Regions from separate parts of the Homo sapiens genome. Here all the other regions are linked to region 1. The links are contacts of gene promoters, found by promoter capture Hi-C in blood cells and fetal thymus (Javierre and others, 2016). All regions are on one chromosome and are shown on one strand. Each heading gives the region's core, a stretch centred on a gene start or on the middle of the fragment in contact. The rest is flanking DNA. Distances are from core to core; before and after follow the strand shown. Region 1 overlaps UBR3 (ubiquitin protein ligase E3 component n-recognin 3). Region 2 holds the start of BBS5 (Bardet-Biedl syndrome 5). Region 3 holds the start of KLHL41 (kelch like family member 41). Region 4 holds the start of PPIG (peptidylprolyl isomerase G).

Evidence for each region. The method cuts DNA at HindIII sites, captures the fragments that hold promoters and counts their contacts. A CHiCAGO score of 5 or more calls a contact.
Region 2: a contact is called between the fragment with the promoter of BBS5 here and a fragment that was not itself captured in region 1, in 6 of 17 cell types (naive CD8 T cells, naive B cells, M1 macrophages and 3 more). The highest score is 5.7, in naive CD8 T cells.
Region 3: the fragment with the promoter of KLHL41 here is called in contact with a fragment that was not itself captured in region 1 in 8 of 17 cell types (naive B cells, activated CD4 T cells, total CD8 T cells and 5 more); the score reaches 10.5 in naive B cells.
Region 4: a contact is called between the fragment with the promoter of PPIG here and a fragment that was not itself captured in region 1, in 1 of 17 cell types (non-activated CD4 T cells). The highest score is 5.4, in non-activated CD4 T cells.

The regions. Positions count from the first base shown.
Region 1 is chr2:169,940,261-169,943,715 of GRCh38, reverse strand. It overlaps UBR3 (ubiquitin protein ligase E3 component n-recognin 3), which reads right to left. Exons shown (of 39, transcript NM_172070.4): 20 at 1,082-1,223. Among named protein-coding and RNA genes, the nearest start is that of UBR3, 110 kb to the right of the region's middle. The HindIII fragment of the contact is 1,321 bases long and covers 1,053-2,373 here.
Region 2 is chr2:169,477,899-169,481,353 of GRCh38, reverse strand. BBS5 (Bardet-Biedl syndrome 5) reads right to left here and starts at 1,860. Exons shown (of 12, transcript NM_152384.3): 1 at 1,742-1,860. The coding sequence starts at 1,800. RefSeq lists enhancers at 1,587-1,926, 1,937-2,046. The HindIII fragment of the contact is 729 bases long and covers 1,193-1,921 here.
Region 3 is chr2:169,507,941-169,511,395 of GRCh38, reverse strand. KLHL41 (kelch like family member 41) reads right to left here and starts at 1,694. Exons shown (of 6, transcript NM_006063.3): 1 at 508-1,694. The coding sequence starts at 1,617. The HindIII fragment of the contact is 4,398 bases long and covers 1-1,905 here.
Region 4 is chr2:169,582,399-169,585,853 of GRCh38, reverse strand. PPIG (peptidylprolyl isomerase G) reads right to left here and starts at 1,503. Exons shown (of 14, transcript NM_004792.3): 1 at 1,364-1,503. RefSeq lists an enhancer at 1,538-1,587. The HindIII fragment of the contact is 789 bases long and covers 990-1,778 here.

The DNA of each region.
Region 1 (3,455 bases), core at 464-2,963:
AAGAACAATAGGTTTTCTTTGTATCTACCTGCATAACATTTATCATGTCTATATAGTTATATTATCTACATGAGTATAGTTATTTTCTTTTTTCTTTCATCTTTCTTCCCCCTCCAAGTTGGAGTCCTGCTCTGTCACCCAGGCTGGAGTGCAGTGGCACAATCTGGGCTCACTGCAACCTCCACCTCCCGGGTTCAAGCAATTCTCCTGCCTTGGCCTCCTGAGAAGCTGGGATTACAGGCGCCCACCACCACACCCACCTAATTTTTGTATTTTTAGTAGAGACAGGGTTTCACCATGTTGGCCAGGCTGGTCTCGAACTCCTGACCTCGTGATCTGCCCACCTCAGCCTCCCAAAGTGCTGGGATTACAGGCGTGAGCCACCGCGCCCAGCCTTCTTTCATCTTTCATGCAGATGAGATTATAAAAATCCCTATTATATACACACATACATACTATACAATATTATGCTTCACACAAGTTTTTGAGTACACAATTAATGTTAGTCAAATAAATCTGTCTTACGTGAGAAGATCCCAAAATAAAACAAATTTTAGATAACAAGCAAGTAAAAGCATCATCTTGTTAGTTCCTAAAATGTTTATCAAAAACAATTTTTGATCTTGCCACATAGAAACCACACTCAAATCCTTCCACGTCACTTTCCTGATTAGAGGGAAAAAGCAAAAAGAACCCCCCAACCTAAGATTCACTGCCTCACATAACTGCCATTCTAGTTTTGTCATTTTAGTGGGTTCTGATGGTTGTTTGGTCCCTGTAGCTCATTCCACACCTCCTGTAGTTCCACGGTATTTCACTTACTGTTCTACAGAATCCATAAATAAATACTTTTATCGGTAGCTAGATAAGATAAATAGTTTCTCACAAAGAATGCTGTAGCTATTCTGTTATGTTCAACTTGGATTTCAAATACATGTGATTATAACATATCTTCATACATCTTAAATGCATAAATACACTTTGCTTTATAAGTGGTACTTTTATGTAAATATTATCCTTTAGGATTATTATTTGAAAATAAATTCTAAGCTTAGTCTTTCTATTCAAATTACTACTGTACCTTGTAAAGCAGAGTGAATAGCACAATGTGTAAAGTTTTACAGTGCAAAAGTCTCATAAGACCTTTATAGCTAGGATGGAGTGATGTCCTTTTCTTATATGGAGGCCAGGGATTTCCAGGAAATTTTCCACTCTGTTTTAAACTGTAAAAATAAAACAAAACTAGAATTAGATGATAGCCTCAAAATCAAACTGTGGTTTAAATGTAATTTATAGACACCAATTTCTGTCACAATATTTTATGCAGTGCTATTTTTAATCAAATTGCTTAAAATGCCAAAGAGGTATCTATTCTCTACACAATGAACATTACTATTTCTTTTCCTAATGGCTAAAGATGAGTAAAGAGAGCTAAGCTGAAAATTAAAAAATATATAAACTTTAAAGTGCTAACAAAGAGAAATGAACAGAAAGAATACACATGAAGTACTCAGCAAGGAAATTTCCAGCTGTAACGATTAAGCAAAATAGACGACCTGAAAATTCTCCCACTACGAATGGTTGGAAAAGCTGGATAAAATATAAATGTAATCTTTTGAATGCGTATTTGAGCTCACACAAAAGTGGAATTCTCCAGTTACCAGAAAAAAAGAAGGAATTAATGACAAGCACTAACACTGTGCCAGTGGTTTTAAAGTCCTTGAGCAAACAGATCACAAGGTATGTTGGGCTCACACAAGGCTCAGAGATAGAACTGATATCCCATCTAAAGCTGAGACCCTTGACAGGCTTTACCCTCACTGAAAGAGTAACTCACAAGGAGAATGAATTAGCTTGTCTGTCTCTTCTGGGATGTAAGAACAAGTTCCCCAAGAAGATAATTATGAACTTGTATGCAAATACAGTAGTCCCCTCTTATCTTCAGGGAACACGTTCCAAAGCCCCCAGTAGATGCCTGAAAATATGGATAATAACAAACTCTCTACATACTATGTTTTCCTACACATACATACCTATGATAAAGGTTAATTTATAAATTAGACACAGTAAGAGATTAACAACAGTAAGTGATAATAGATTACAGCAATATACTGTAATAAAAGTTAGGTGAATGTGTACATGCTTTCTCTCTCAAAATACCTTATGTATAGTAGTCCCCCTTATACCTAGTTTCACTTTCCACAGTTTCAGTTACCCATGGTCAACCATGGTCAGAAAATATTAAATGAAAATCTCCAGAAATAATTCACAGGTTTTCAATTGGATGCCATTCGGAGTATTGTTATAATTGTTTTATTTTATCTTTAGTTATTACTGTTAATCTCTCACTATCTCTAATTTATAAATTAAGCTTTATCATAGGTATGTATTGTAGGAGAAAAACATAGTATATATAGGGTTTGGATACCATCCCTCATTTCAGGCATCCACTGTGGGTCTTGGAACATGTCCTGAGGATAAGAGGGGGACCATTGTACTATACTCACTCCTGTTATTCTTGGGATGATATGAGATGATAAAATGCCTATGTGATGAGATGAAGTGAAGTGAATGATGGTAAGCACTGTGACATGGTATCGGGCTACTAATGACCTTCTAACAACATGTCATCAGAAGGAGGAATATCTGCTTCAGGTGATCCTGAATCATCAGGCCATGACAATGTGATGGCTGGATGTCAGGAGCAGACAATGTCAATAACTAACAAGTGAGTAGTATATACAGCATGGTACACTGGACTAAGGAACAATCCATATTCCAGGTGGGACAGAGCAGGATGGCACAAGAATTCATCATCCTGCTTATAATGGCATATAATTTAAAATCTATAAATTACTTATTTCTGGAATTTTCCATTTAATATTTTCGGACAGCCATTGGCTACAGGTAACTGAAAGTACAGAAAACTAAACCACAGATAAGAGGGGACAACTGTAATAGCAGCCTCATAATACAAAAGGCAAATTTTGAGGGAATTACACAGAGAAAACGACAAATCTACAACCATAGTAAAGGATATTAACATACTTATCTAAATGAGAGCCAGAAAAACATTGGTAAACAGTTTTAAGATTTTTAACAACACAATTAAGAAGCATGGGCAAAGGCAACATGCAACAAGTAGTGAATACACATAATTTTAACAGCGCTTAGAATATTTATAAAAATTGACTATGTAGAATGCAAAGTAAATCTCAAAAATATCAAAAAAACAGATACATGAACCACATTCACTTGTCACATAGCAAATAAAACTAGAAACCAACTTAAAAATATAACTCAAAACTCCAGACATGCAGACATTTTAAGGCGCTATGCTCTTAGAAATTCAGAAGCCATTAAAAATCATAACAGAAAAATTTAAAGCCTAAACTATATAGAAAAAGTTGTGGGCCACAACTAAAGTAGTACTTAGAAGGAAATACATAGCCTTA
Region 2 (3,455 bases), core at 611-3,110, 460 kb after region 1:
TTTCTTCTTTTCTGGAATACTCTCCTCCTGTCTACCCTGACAAGGCTCTGCCCATTCTTCAGGGAACAACTCAAATACTATGAATATTTATTCTTCTTCAAGGACTTCACCAGGTAGAATAAATTGTTCTGTTTCTATGAGTCTCAGCTTTTCGCTCATTTTTTCAGAATGGTATTTACCACATTTATTATAGTGGTTGTCTGTATGTATCTCCTGCACTAGAACGGGGGGATATGAATATCATTTCCTATTATTTTCTGTCTCTAGCTATCGGCCCAGTAACTAGCACGTAATAAAACATGGATAAATGTTTACTAATGTTACTGAAACGGACTTTTGTTTGGATTAAGAACCCTACAAGAAAGACAGAAAATGTCGCCGGGCGCAGTGGCTCACGCCTGTAATCCCAGCACTTTGGGAGGCCGAGGCGGGCGGATCACCTGAGGTCAGGAGTTCGAGACCAGCCTCAACATGGAGAAACCCCGTCTCTACTAAAAATACAAAATTAGCCAGGCGTGTTGGTGCGTGCCTGTAATCCCAGCTACTCTGGAGGCTGAGGCAGGAGAATTGCTTGAACCTGGGAGGCGGAGGTCGCAGTGAGCCGAGATCGCGTCATTGCACTCCAGCCTGGGCAACAAGAGCGAAACTCTGTCTCAAAAAAAAAAAAAAAAAAAAAAAAAAAAGAATGACAGAAAATGTCATAGAAAGTGCGCAATATGTTACTACAGTCCGTAATTTTACGAATTCCTTTCTCTTTCATCTTCTTAAAGGGTCTAACATGTTAGCATTAGATATCTAGCTATACTTAACCTGAGAAATTTATCAATATTTCATTTTTCCATCTAAGGAGGTGAGGTCCATGATAAGGAACGATTCCATCTAAGGAGGTGAGGTCCATGATAAGGAACGATTCCACCTAAGGAGGGGAGGTCCATGATAAGGAACGATAAGAAGTAGCTAAGAAGCTCCATGCCATTAATCCAGGAATCTTAGCTTTAGCGTTTCTCAACACTTAGTAACCCAACCGGCATTTCCCGCCCTGGATTTTGGAGTAGGAGGTTTCTAACCACTTTTTCTTTACGATACTTTCCAAAAACATGGTTTCTATTTAATGTATGATAATTTCCAAAAACAGGTTGCAAAAGAAGACTCCTTCTTGTTGGTGACTGATATGAATAACTAGATGAAAGCTTACCAAGGACATAAAGTTTGCGCGGTTAGTAATTTTTGACGACTGCCTTACTCCCACCTCCCTTATTTTACAGACATGAGGATTCTAGCTTGAATGATGAAGACATCTGCTCAAGGGCCCACACTGTGGGTCGATATTACACATCTACTTTTAGAACCCTAGTTTCCTGAGTCCCTGACCTACGTTCCTTCCATGAAACTGAAATCCCAAGCTCACGTGGGTGTATACGGGACGCTAAGCCCCGGGTGGCCCCGGTCGTGCTCAGGTTCACATTCCTGATCCGTCCCGCGGGCCAGGATGGGGGAACCGGAGGTCGCATGGGACCAAAACTGTGTAATGCCGATGCGCTCTTGCCGCGGCGCCGGCCTCGAGAGGGCCACAGTGGCCCAACCAGCCTGAGGTCTCTCGAGGCGCGGACGACCGGCGCAAGCCTCCCACCCTCACCAGGGCCGCGAGCTGCGGAGGTGCAGTCTCCGCCCGCGGGTCCCTAACGCGCACGGCGGCGCCCTCTACAGGGTTGAAGATCCCTCGGGAATCTTGGAAACTCACTGCGCGGACAGGTCGAAACGGACATCCCGATCCTCCCAAAGCGCATCCAGCACCGACATGGTGAACAAGGCCCGTGGCAGGATCTCTCCACAGCCGTGCAGGCCTAGCTGCGTCTCTCTGGCTCCAAGGCAACGGGCCGCCTCTGTCACGACGTCTACGGCGGGCGCCGAGACTCAAGCTTCCGCGAGAGTGCGCGCGCGTCGCCCAGCTCTTTCGCGTCGTTAAGCCGATTTGAGATGCGAGGCAGGATTTAGGAGTCTCTGAGAAGCCCAGCTGTGTCCGCCAAGGGGAGCGTGCCTGACCTCTGGGCGACCTTCCTTGCCTCCAAACAGACATCCTTTAGCCATTTTACCCCTCTCCTTATTTCTCTTCACCGTCAAGAGATTCAGGTTATTAGCCGGGCATGGTGGCTTCTGCCTGTAATCCCTGCAGTTTGGGAGGCCGAGGCTGGAGGATCACTTGAGGCCAGGAATTCGAGACTAGCCTGGGCAACATAGCGAAACTTCATCTCTACAAACACAAACAAACAAACAAAACCAACCCAAAATTAGCCAGGGGTGGTGGTGCACGCCTGCAGGCTCAACTACTCGGGAGGCTGAGGCGGGAGGATCTCTTGAACCCAAGAGGTGGAGGCTGCGGGGAGCTATGATCGTGCCTCTGCCCTCCAGCCTAGGTGATAGAGATATAGGATCAACAGGTTCGTATGCCTGCTGTGCAGTAACAAACCCATTACACGAAGACAGCAGAGTTTGCAGCAGGGAAAGAGTTTAATGATTGCAGGGCACCTAGCAAAGAGATGGGAAGAGATCCTCGAATCTATCTTCCCAAGAGTTCTGGGCTGAGGTTTTTAAGAGGATCACAGAGGGCGAGGGGCTGGAAAATTGGGGTCCTTGATTGGTCGGAGTAAGGGAGATGAAATCATCAGGATAGGGAAGCTGCATTCTTTGCTGAATCAGTTTCTCACGGGTTCCTCAGACCAGCTGGCATCAGTGGGATCCTTCAGGCCAGCTGAGGCAGTAGTTTCATTGGTATGCAGGATCTGAAAGACTATCTCAAAGGGAAAACTGAGTATTTCATAATGTTCAAGTTGTTCTCTATAGAGCAATAGAAGGGAACTATAATCTTGTGACAGGGTCTGCATGATTCTAGGACAATAGGCACCAAACAACTCTGAGCAAGCAGGTCAGAGAGGAAGCTGACCTCATGATTAATGCCGAATTGGCTGCAAGCTTGGTTTATTTTTGTCCCCTCCCCCACACTTTCTTCCCTGATTACTTTTATAAATTTTATTGGGATGGTTTTAGAATGAGGAAAAAAGAAATTTAGAGTTAAAGCTTCAAATTCCTTACCTGGGCCTAGCTCAATGTGGCCCTGCCTATGTCTGCAACCTCCAACCACCCTCACTTCTGGCTGCTCTCTTGCCAGACAGGGCTCAGAGACTTTGGAGGGCCCCCTTCCTTTGCCTGGAACACTGTTTCCCCAGACCTCTGCATAGGCCTGCCCTTTGTCACTTAAATCTCTGCTTGGGCTGGGCGCTGTGGCTCAGGCCTGTAATCCCAGCACTTTGGGAGGCCGAGGTGGGCGGATCACCTGAGGTCAGGAGTTCGAGACCAGCCTGGCCAACATGGTGAAACCCCATCTCTACTAAAAACCCCAAATTAGCTGGGCACGGTGGTGGACGCCTGTAATCCCAGCTACTCGGGAGCCTGAGGCA
Region 3 (3,455 bases), core at 445-2,944, 430 kb after region 1:
CTATTTTTAATAGGTAAGAGTATACAAGATTAAATTTAGTTTTTACAGCAGGGGGTGGTGGCTCACACCGGTAATCCCAGCACTTTGGGAAGCCAAACTGGGAGTATTGCTTGAGCCCAGGAGTTCGAGACCAGCCGGGGCAACATAGTGAGAGCCCATCTCTGCTAAGAAAAAATAAATTTAGTTTTTACTAAAATACTGGGCTTTGAGGGATTACAGTCACGATCATCTATAAACAAGGCATTTTTGGTAAAATAGTATAAAGAACATCTTAAGTCATTAAACATGAATTAGAACCTCATTATTCACCAAACTTTTTATTACACATTAACAAAGCAGTCAAATATTTTTCTGTCAACGCTCTATACAGCAAAAGTGCAAGGGACTGGAATAGGACATCAATTAGAGTAAAATGCAAGCAGCTTGAATAATTCACAAATTGGCTAACTGGATGGTGAGTAACAGCCTTCCCTTTAAGCAACTACATATACAAAAAGTCCTTCTTACCTGGAAGAAGTATGACTGTAGAGGTTGATCCTTATTTTCTTCATCCACATATAGTCCTCCTACCACATATATCTGATTTTGCTGGGTAACAATGCTGGAATGATTTCTGGGAATCTGCTCAGCCAGTGCAGTAAGGTAGCATTCATTTTCCGTGGGGTCATAAGCCACTGCTGCTGTGTCATTAACCAAGAGGATGAGGTCTTTTACAAACATTCCATGCCTGGGAATGTCATTCAGGTAACCAGGAAGTAAATCTTCATCACCAACATCACCATTCACCTCACCAGCCCCAGTCTTCGCGGCATTTTTGCTAGGTTCTGGGAGTTTGCCTGCGAAAGCATCTTTTAGAACTTTGATTTTTTTCTGGAGGTCTGGGTTGCTTTTAATTATATCATCTTTCTCAACATGATCCTTAAAATATTTTTCTGTCATAAGGCGAAAACGGATACAATCAAACACTTCACTAAGGTTTTTAACCCTGTTTTCCTTGTCTGTTCGCACCCATTTCATCACTGCCTCAAATACTGCTTCTTCTTTTTCTACATTTAGGCTGTCATTTGAAATGACTGAGATCAGTTCCTGTGGAGACAGTTGCATAAAGTCCTCTTCCTTACAAATCTGTACAAAGCGATCAGACACAAATTCACGGGCAGAAATGGCGAGTCTCGGGCAGTCAAGAAGAAGTCCTAATCTTAGGATGGCTAGACAGTTACCAGGAGCAAGTCTTTTCTGAAGATAAGAAACGCAGACAGTAAACACTGAGGGGATCTGAAAGCGGCTGGCCAATGCAAAAATATCTTGCACATTTCCGTCATTGAGATCAATACTGGCAGAGTACAGGTATTTGATGATTAAATCAAGTATAGCAGGATCCACATTGTCTAGCACTACCTCCTTTTTTTTCGCCTCATCAATTTCAGATAAAAAGTACTCACGGAAGTAAGGACTACAAGCTGACAAAATCAATCTGTGGCAAGGAAGACTTTTGTCACCTGCTTTTAGGGTGCAATCGATGAATTTTTTCTCATCCAGGAGATCTTTTAGACCATCCTGAAGAAGGGTGGATTGGTAAAGCCGCAGTTCCTCTGCAAGTTCCCGCTGGGAATCCATTCTGTGAGAAACCTGGGTAAGGAAGGGGACACTGAAGGCCTTAGCTCCTTGCAGCACACAGGTCTAGCTGTAAAAAGGCAGATCAGTGTGCTTTGCCCAGCTTGAAGCCTTTGCAATTTAATCCCACTAGCTAAATATAGATACCAACTCTAACAACGGGAATTTAGGAGAGCTGGCTTGGAAAGAAGAGTTGTTCTTGCAGCTGTTATAGATTGAAAGTAACAACTGGAACTTTTAATCACTAGGGAAACAGCTAAGAAACAAGACATTTAAGTGAAGTTGAAAGCTTAAAAATACATAACACATTAGAAGATATACTAATAAAGGCTACTACAAGAAAATGTTTATTGAATTAACAGAAAAATGAATCATAAAAATGAGTCACTCCTCTAAATATGTTCTAGTGTCAAGCTACTTGGCTCTCTGAATTAATGATGCAAAGGTCAAGAATATGAGATGTGTTCATTTGAATACTCATAAGCAAGATCTCATTTCCAATAATTGTTAACATACAAATTTTTACTTTCTACTCAGAACAGTGGGATATAGATATTTCTTTTAGAAGTAGTAAACTTAAAGATGTTTACTTCTGTACTAGTTTTACAAAACCTTTAATGTTGCCATGATAATTGAAAAAAGAAATGCAGAGGAATTGCTAATTTTCTAAAACATTCCAAATTATTCTTACATGGAAAAACTGTAATTAATATTGAATTAAATTATAAAATTATTTATTCATATCCTGCCTTGTCATACAAATGATCTAATGTGGCAAACGATAATAAGGTAAAATAAAAGCAAAAGGTTAAAAGGAATCACAGAGCCAGAAAAAATAATTAAAAGTCAATCTAGGGAACGAAAAAGTCCACACACATTCAAATAAGATCACAAAAGATAATCTGTAATTTTAAATATCAAAAATTATCATTCATTAAATAAAACGTGAAAAATAGAACAGATATAACCCCATGAGAACAATGTTATCACTAAACACAGCAAAATCAAGATGAACTCCTACAATGGTCATAGAGAACAGCCCCCCCTTTTTTTAAAGAGTATATAACTGGGGACATAACGTAGGCTGTTGATTATAATAGAATACCATATTAATTATGGAGGTAGAAGTAATGATTTGAAAGAAAATCGGTCCTTTGTTTATATATAGATGGTATAATATACTTCATTAAATACTTTCATTTATTTATTTATTTTTGAGACAGAGTCTCGCTCTGTCACCCAGGCTGGAGTACAATGGCGCAGTCTCGGCTCACTGCAACTTCTGCCTCCCGGGTTCAAGCAATTCTCTTGCCTCAGCCTCCCGAGTAGCTGGGATTACAGGCACCCGCCACCATGCCTGGCTAATTTTTGTATTTTTAGTAGAGACAGGGTTTCATCATGTTGGCCAGGCTGGTCTCGAACTGCTGACCTCGCGATCCGCCTGCCTCGGCCTCCCAAATTGCTGGGATTACACGTGTGAGCCACCGCACTGGGCCCATTAAATACTTTATTACACAGTCATATTGTCACATTATCTGAACTCAAGTAGGGCTGTAGAAATACTGTAATTTCAAAAGTTGGTATTTTTACACATACCCCCAAAAACAAATTCCATGAAGACAGGGATTGTGGGAGTGTCTGTTCTTTTCAAATGCTATAGCGTAGGGGTTTCGTGAGTGCTTTATAAGTATTTGTTGAATGAATGAATGCCCCAGATCAAGGAATTATGTATTTTTAAACTTCAAGGTCTCTATCCATGAGTAAAGGCCTTTTCTTTTATTTTACATCACAGTGAAGTCAATGGTACTGTCAGCTGCTAAAACAACAGCTGAAAGAAGAGC
Region 4 (3,455 bases), core at 254-2,753, 360 kb after region 1:
ACACACACTCACTCTTTTTTCCTGGTTTTAACTACTGAAAGTTAATATCAGGCCCCCCTAATTTCTAAAACATCTAATTGTTCTTTGGACAACTATGTTAGTACCAAACTATAAAAGCAAATACTTTTGTATTTGTGTTCACTACTGCAAAATGTTGGTTACACACAGAAAGGGCTATCGTGGAAAGAAATTAAAATCAATGCACAAAATGGTGCTTTTATAGCATTTCCAAAACGATTGTGCATACTCCTTGCCAGCACATCTAGACTTTGCTCCTTAAGACTAAACATGAGCTGGCCGTGCGCGGTGGCTCTCGCCTGTAATCCCAGCACTTTGGGAGGCCGAGGTGGGCGGATCACGAGGTCAGGAGATCGACCATCCTGGCTAACACGGTGAAAACCCGTCTCTACTAAAAACACAAAAAATTAGCCGGGCATGGTGGCACGTGCCTGTAGTCCCAGCTACTTGGGAGGCTGAGGCAGAAGAATCACTTGAACCCAGGAGGCGGAGGTTGCAGTGAGCCAAGATCGCGCCACTGCATTCCAGCCTAGGCGACAGAGCGAGACTCCGTCTCAAAAAAAAAGACTAACCAAGAACCAAATTAGCATACTTCCCCTTCAGGCATACTGAGCCCCGAAATCATCATCTTCCTCCTAAAGAGTAATTATCTCCTCCTAAAAGGCCTGCGCAGCTCACAGCTCCTCCGAAACACGGGGGAACTTCGCGAGAGCTCAAGACCCTGGACTTGAGTTTTAGAAAAATGCTTAACAAAGTGGCCTCTGCCACTTAACTGCACGACAGCCACTGTGCTGTGAGAGGAAAAGGTCGAAAGAGGAGGAAAGCTAGTCTTCAATTTTAATCCCTGTGATTCAGGCTCTTCGCCCGTCACTCTCCAACCCTAGCCTGACAGGACGTCAGGCTGTCTCCCCCTTCCCCACCAGTCCCGCCACCTACCCCGCAACAGTGCTGAGTCTTAGGATTTTGAAGCTTTAAAAATCAACCCGGCTCCCTAGAGTTCAGGCCGCAGTCGCTGCCGCCATGTTACAGCTTGTGCGGCAAAATGCGTCAGTGAGGGAGGTGTGCGCCTGAGTGGGGAGGGCGGGGGCTGGCAGAGGAAGGACCGTCCCCAGGCCCCGGGGCTCGACTGCAAGCCTTCTCCTTCTGCAACAGCGGCAAAGGCACTGCTGCGGTCCTCAGGGACTTCCTCTGGGCCCAAGCAGCCCCGATACCTCGAGGGAAAGACGGTAAACCCAACCCGGTCAGCCGCGCCGGCTCCGCCCCTCTTCCCAGGCCCTTCCCGCTTTCGTACGCAGGGACTGCTGAAATGACGCCGCCAGAACAACTTGAGCCTCATACCACTTACCTGCACCGGTAGAGTTTTCCTCTTCTCTGGGTCCGGTCCTTTGAAGCGCTTCAAATCTACCGCCGCCAGAAAAGGCGCTAAAGCCCGCTAACCGCCTCCCTCCCCCACAACTCAGTCCTGGCATGGAGAGACAGCGTCGCACCGGAAGCGCGTCAGGAGTGGGTTGTCAGCATCGGCCAGCGTTCACCTGCTTGCGTCACCACGCCCTCCTAGGACTTCTAGGATTTTGGTGCCTTTTAAATTCCTAGTTTATAGGTGGCCTAATGCTTTGTGGATGCGTTGACTGGGAACGCTTGTAACCGTTAAAATGCCATATCCTTTGTGAAGTAAAGTGCCTCATTTAATAAACATTTATTGATCTTACGCTAGGTTATCAGAAAGGAAGGCCTACCTTCATGGAGCTTCCAGTTAAGCTTCCACTTAACGCTAGGATATAAGTTCTAAAAACGCAGTAATGAGCAAAGTGTTATTTGAGGAAAGAGGAAGAAATTACAAAGAGCTTTGATGTTCTTTGTTGTTTTACAGATAAAGAAATTGAGGCTCAGGGAAGATAAACGCCTCCTCCTCAAACACACTGTTCTTGAATGCCAAAGCAAGTCTTTTGATGCCAAATCTAGTGCCTTCTAGAGAAAATATGGCATATATTATTTAATTATTTTAAGGGGCAAGGGTCCCCGGATTATGTTAGAAATAAATAACCATTGCTGTTTGGGCGGGGGGGTGGGGGGGGATGGGCAGTGATTCTGGTAGGGATGTGGGGTGTGTTTTAAAGGAACTAGCTAACTAGAGGACTTAAATTGTTCTGTCGTTTAAAGGCAACGTAAATTATGATCATTTAAATTTTTCACTCACTTGCATCAGGTAAATTAATTATCAACAACAGTTAGGCATGTGGTGGTGCTTCTAAGGGGCGTGACCAGTTTTACACAGCAGTAAAACAGAGGACATTTCTGCCTCTCCACCCCCACCTCTTTTAAGTCATTGCCCTTTATTGCAGGAGAGCAGCAGCATATTCATCTTTAGATAGTTCAGAGATTAAACGGATTTACACTTCGCTGTGTGTGGAGGGGACAATTCTGCAATACCTTAAAACAGGGGTCCCCAACCCCTGGGCCACAGACTGGCCTGGCTAATTTTTTGTATTTTTAGTAGAGACAGGGTTTCTCCATGTAGGTCAGGCTGGTCTCAAACTCCCAACCTCAGGTGATCCGTCCTCCTTGGCCTCCCAAAGTGCCGGGATTACAGGTGTGAGCCACCACGCCCGGCCAACGCTTTTCGAAAGAAGACATACTTGCAGCCAACAATCATAATGAAAAAGCTCAACACCACCAATCATCAGAAAAATGCAAATCAAAACCGCAGTGAGATACTATCTCATACCAGTCAGAATGGCTATTATTAAAAAGTCAAAAAATAACAGGTGCTGGTGAGGTTGTGGAGAAAAAGGAACATTTTACAGTGCTGGTGGGAGTTTAAATGAATTCAACTATTGTGGAAGACAGCGTGGCGATTCCTCAAAGACCTAGAGGCAGAAATACCATTTGACCCAGCAATCACATTACTGGGTATATACCCAAAGGAATATAAGTTGTTCTGTTATAAAGACATACACATATGTATGTTCATTGCCACACTATTCACAATAGCGAAGACATGGAGTCAACCTAAATGTCCATCAATGGTAGACTTGATAAAGAAAATGTGGTACATATACTCCATGGAATACTATGCAGCCATGAAAAAGAATGATCTCATGCCCTTCGCAGGAACATGGATGGAGCTGGAGACCATTATCCTTAGCAAACTAATGCAGAAACAGAAAACCAAGTACCACATGTTCTCACTTATAAGTGGGAGCTAAATGATGAGAACACATGAAGACATAGAGGGGCACAATACACACTGGGGCCTATCAGAGTGTAGACAGTGGGAGGAGGGAGAGGATCAGGAAAAATAACTAATGGGTCCTAGACTTAATACCTAGGTGATGAAATATTCTGTACAACAAACCCCCATTACACAAGTTTACCTCTGTAACAAACCTGCATATGTACCCCACAACTTAAATAAAAATAAATAAATGGAAGGATAC